Linked DNA regions of Homo sapiens: region 1 is linked to region 2. Evidence: promoter capture Hi-C in 16 types of primary human blood cells and fetal thymus (Javierre and others, 2016). All regions are on one chromosome and are shown on one strand. The core of a region is centred on a gene start or on the middle of the fragment in contact, and the rest is flanking DNA. Distances in the headings are between cores, read along the strand shown.

What was found. The method cuts DNA at HindIII sites, captures the fragments that hold promoters and counts their contacts. A CHiCAGO score of 5 or more calls a contact.
Region 1: a fragment that was not itself captured here is called in contact with the fragment with the promoter of LMO2 in region 2 in 2 of 17 cell types (activated CD4 T cells and naive CD8 T cells); the score reaches 6.1 in activated CD4 T cells.

The regions. Positions count from the first base shown.
Region 1 is chr11:34,381,355-34,384,054 of GRCh38, reverse strand. No RefSeq gene overlaps it. Among named protein-coding and RNA genes, the nearest start is that of ABTB2, 25 kb to the right of the region's middle. The HindIII fragment of the contact is 170 bases long and covers 1,294-1,463 here.
Region 2 is chr11:33,890,689-33,893,388 of GRCh38, reverse strand. LMO2 (LIM domain only 2) reads left to right here and starts at 1,313. Exons shown (of 6, transcript NM_005574.4): 1 at 1,313-1,594. RefSeq lists an enhancer at 1,748-1,857. The HindIII fragment of the contact is 4,099 bases long and covers 1-1,732 here.

The DNA of each region.
Region 1 (2,700 bases), core at 129-2,628, 490 kb before region 2:
GGCTAGATCTAGGGGACAAATAAAAGATGCCCAGCACATGGATCTTGACTGAGATGCTTGCTGCGTTATTATTACACTATACATTTTTTACTGTAAGAGATTATAGTATAAAAAAGAAAAGGGAGAAGAGAAGGTAGAAAGGAAAGAAGGAAAAGGAAGGAGAGAAGGGAAGGAAGGAAGCAAGCAAGGAGGGAGGAAGAAGGGAGGGAAGGAAGGAACTAAAAGAGGAAAAATTAAAAAGAAAGTGAATAGAAAGGAAAGAAAATAAACCCGACCAACTAGCTCCTGCATTATGTACTAGTAAGAATCTGATGGATTTATCAACTGAAAAATAGTAACCAAAAGTCTGAATAAATGGTTGTCATCAAATGTTTTTGTCAAGTCAGTAAAATAATACAGCAATTTTTTTTTTTTTTTAGACGGAGTCTCGCTCTTTCACCCAGGCCGGACTGCGGTGGCGCTATCTCGGCTCACTGCAACCTCTGCCTCCTGGGTTCACGCCATTCTCCTGCCTCAGCCTCCCGAGTAGCTGGGACTACAGGCGCCCGCCACCACGCCCGGCTAATTTTTTGTATTTTTAGTAGAAACAGGGTTTCACCATGTTAACCAGGATGGTCTCGATCTCCTGACCTCGTGATCCACCGCCTCGGCCTCCCAAAGTGTTGGGATTACAGGCGTGAGCCACCGCACCCAGACTAATATAGCATTTTTAATGCTATATATTGCATTTCTTAACCTATGATGAATCTTAGACAATGGTCTCCATTTTTTAGTCTTATTGTCTTTCTTTTTAAAGTCACCAGAAATTAAGTAAAGGACGTATAACATGCTCAGAAATGCTATGAACAGGTACCCACAATTGGGTGGGTCTTTGATTTTGTTTGCCTTCCTGTAGTGTTGGAACCGTACTTCAATGTTCTGGGTAAAACTAGAGCCAGGAAAATGAACTATGCGCACATAGTTCATTTTGAAATGCAAAATGCAAAATGAAAATGTGCACATCAATTAGGAATGCTTTGGCTGAAAGTGAAAGACAATCTGGCTAACTGTGGTTTAACACATAGGGATTATTTTTCTACCTATTAAAAAAGTGATATAGGCAACTGCTGGCGTTGATTCAGTGACCCCATAATTTCAGGTCCAGCATCTCTGCAGTTCTTCTGTTCTCTTCCTCCCAATCACAAATGACCAAGACATCACCAAGTATAAAGATTAAGGCACCAGAGGCAGGTAGGAGGAGGCATTGCAAGGTACAAGTGTCAACATTTTGCTTTTATCAGAAAAGCAAAAGCTTTCTCCACAAACCACCAACAGACCACTGCCCACATCTCATGGTCTAGAACTGTGCCACCCCTAGCTGCAAGGAGGCTGGGAAAGTGAATATTTAGTTTTCTCAGCCTTTATAGGGAAGTTGGCAAGAGATAAGAAAACTGGAAACAGCTATTAGTGAAGCCAGCTAAGCTTTAATGCCTAAAATATTCTCCCTGCAACGTCCAAAATATCTACCATGAAAATGAATTCTTTGGCATTAAAAATAACTTTTAGAAGGCATCTATTTACATATACATGTTTCCTGGAAGGATGATGTAGCAACACACTGGTGCCCATTATCATTTTAGCATTAATTTATTTCTGAAGATTTGCTAGTATTTGCCTAGTACAAAGCCAAGTGTTAAGAGAATAAGATAACTAGGCTTCAACATAGTAAAAATATGCCAGGAAAATTCCAGACACCATCAGTGAACCTTATTAGTTTCAATAAGCAGGTGAAGGCATTACATTTAGCAAGTAGGCAGGGCAGGAAACACTAAAATACATTTCACCCACTGCATTATGTCTAGGATCAGCCTCAAAGCCAGCTCCTGAAGGGCATAGCAGATTGCATCTAATATGTGCCATCAAAACTGGCCCACTACTCCTTTTCAGCCTATCCGGAATCAAGCAGGCATGAAAAATGGACATCATGGAGATGTGATGACAGAAGGCACATACCTAGATTTCTTTCCTCATAGTACAGTGGTTGTTAAGAGCACAGAGTCTAGAACTAGCTAGATTCTTGGGCTCCAAATCCTGGCTCTACTAGCTCTATGACCTTATCAAGTTACTGACCATCACTGTGCTTTGGTTGCCTCATCAGTGGAAAAGATCATAGGGTTGTGATGAGAAAAACAAGTTAATAAATGTAAATAAATATGCATGGTGCATAGTAGGTACTATATAAGAGCTGGCTGCAAAAAATAAGGCCTTTCTCCTGTGATCCCATTAGTATTATGCTTTCATATTTATATGTTTTTGGTAAAGTCTTCCTTTTCTTCTTTTTCTTATATAAGAACAACATAGTTTCACTACAAAGAACTCAGAAAGGACAGGGAAGCAAAATAAACTTTTTCAAGAAAAAAAAATCCACAATCCCTTTCCTCAAGGGAAAACCACTACTAACATATCATATTTCACCCATCTATGTATTTTTATTTTTGCAATAGTGTTCTGTAACACATCTTTTTAAAATTTGACAATATATTATGGACATCTTCCACATCTAGAAATATATTTCTACAGTGTCTTTTTAGTTATCACAAAGTATTCTGTTAAATGAGTATTTCATACTTTACCTTGCCAATTTTCTGCTGTTGAATATTGGCATTATTTCTGTTTTTGTTTGGTTGTTTTTTGTTTGTTTGTTTGTTTTTGTTATTACAG
Region 2 (2,700 bases), core at 64-2,563:
ATAAGACACCTCCTTGCAAAGTGAGAAGGCAGAACTAGATTCAGATTCACCTAGATTTCAACTCTTGTGCTCAGGCCACCACCACCACCATGGAAACAATTTTGCTTGACTCTCCCGGCGCAGCCGCGGCAGGCGTGTGTGTTGTCAGACACTGCAGGAAGAGTGATGGCCTGGGTGTTGACAGGCTCCTAATTGGAAGGTAGGAGGTGCCACCAGAGATCAGCTATAAAAGATATCTTTGGACTGGGGTGGGCTGCTAATGCTTGGAAGAGACTTGTGGGTGAGGCCCGGTGAGCTGTCACCTCGGAATTGGGCCTTGCCCAGCAGACAGACATGCATGCGGGGGAGGTAGCTGACAGACAGGGGCGCATGGGGAAGCAGCCATTCCAGAGAACTGCAACAGCAGATTGCAAACCAGGACTTCAGGACTCAGAGGGGGACAAGGAAAGGAGAGCCTATAGTGGCCCCAAAGCCCAGGGTCAGAGGCAGGGCCAGGAGAGCAGCTGACAAGAGCTTTATGGTAAGGACAAAAGAGAAGACAGCCGGAGTCTCCTTTTATTCAGCTCATAAAGACCCAACTTCTGTGCACTTATAACTGTTCAGACCCTGAGGGGTTCAAAAAAAGAACCGTGTTAGGAGAATTCAATATTTAATTAAGAGATGATCAGATCCGTGCACCGAAATTATTGCTGGGTAAGACAATACTGTGTGTGTTACATAGCATTGGAACTTAGGAAAGCTCTTTCCTTGTGTTGTTTAATTTAATCCACTCAACAACCCTGCAAAGTGGGTACCATTGTCCCTGTTTTTTATGAATGAGGGGGTGAGGTGCTGAGAAGCTGTGTACGTTATTTGAGTTTGTCTGGCTAGTCAGTGGCTGAGCCAAGTTCCAATCCAGGTCATGTGAGCCTCTGAACTTTCTGATAAAACCTGCAGACCCCCTTAACTGGGATAATATAGTCATGCATTAAGCAAGAAGGAGAAGTAAATACAGGCTGATGGTGTAGGGGAGAAATTCAAAGGGAGAAGGCCTAGGAGGGAGAGGGAGCTATGTGTGAACAGAACCAAAGATGGCCTCTGGGAATTGGAAGGTCTCTTGGAATTCGTCCAAACTGAGGATCACAAGTCTCCACATTCTGAGTAGGAGGATGAGGGTCTGAGTTAGGATTTGGGTCCTGCAGGGCTTGCTAAGGAATCCCCTGATGGCCTAGGATTCCACGCAGAGCACATCTGGTGTGAGAGAGCTCGCTGCAAGGGTGAAGGCTCCGCCCTATCAGATAGACAACCAGGCCACCAAGAGGCCCAGCCCTCCAAACCCTGGATTTGCAACATCCTCAAAGAACAGCAACGGGCCTTGAGCAGAATTGAGAAGGAAATACCCCCACCTGCCCTCAGCCGTTAAGTGGGCTTTGCTATTCACAAGGGCCTCTGGGTGTCCTGGCAGAGAGGGGAGATGGCACAGGCACCAGGTGCTAGGGTGCCAGGGCCTCCCGAGAAGGAACAGGTGCAAAGCAGGCAATTAGCCCAGAAGGTATCCGTGGGGCAGGCAGCCTAGATCTGATGGGGGAAGCCACCAGGATTACATCATCTGCTGGTGAGTAGGCTTCATTAATTCTCTGATGAATGGACGATTGCAAGGGAACTTTTTTCATCTTCAAGGAGCCAGAAGAAGTGGTGATTAAATTGGTCTTTTAAAATAAAAAGACTCCAAAGGGGTACAAGTCTTCAAGCTTCCCCTGTGGTGTTCCGGGCACTCTGGCTTCTCTTTCGGAGGGAGGAAGAGCATCTATTCATAGGCTGTGACTTGGAGAGGCCCCACGGTGAGTCAGGCGCTTGCTGTGTGAGCCGCTGGTTGCTAATGTCTTCGGGAACTGCTAATTTACCCATCTAATTTGTTCCTGTACACTGGCCACAAAGGGAGACCACTCAATTATTCTGATCCAAAAGAGAGGCTTGTGTTTACCATGATCTCCCCAGCAACTGTGTGAGTGTGTGTGCATGTGTGTGTGTGTGTGTGTGTGTGTGTGTGTGTGTGTGTGTGTTTGCCTAACAACCTTAGGCAATGACGAAGAGGTGGGGCTGCTGCCCTTGTTAGCATTTTCAAACACATTCCAGTTCTGAGTTGAGGGCAAAGATTGTAATGGGGTGCTTCAGAGAAGCCTTGGCTCCCAAGGAGGTTATAACTTCAAAGGGTGTTTTTGAAAAACCAAGGCGGATGAGGAAAGTGGCTACAAGTTCCTTCCATCACAGAGGATCAATGAAGGGGAACAAAGATTTGGGAGCATCTACTTTGTGCCAGGTACTGTGCTTGGGTTTTACACGTCTTCTCTTGTTGACTTTGCATAACTCCCCTTTGAAGCAGATATTACTCCAGGTTCTTGCCGTAATGTTTCAGCTTAAAGAAAACCAACCCATACTTCTTTAGGTTGCCCTGAAAAGGTGAATCTTCTGTGAAGCCTTTTCTGTCTTTATCTGTTAAAATTAATTAAGCTCTTGTTTGTGCTCCCAGAAAATCACTTTAGACCTTAGAAAGATGGCAGCCTCAGTTTTCTCATTTGTAATATAGGGGTACCCATAGGGTCATTGTGAGAAATAATAGAAATAAATCATGGAAGTGCTTGGATAGTAGCTGGTACTTAGCCCTCATCAGTCATCATTGTCATTGTTGTTAAGAGTAATAATAATAATAATATCACTTAT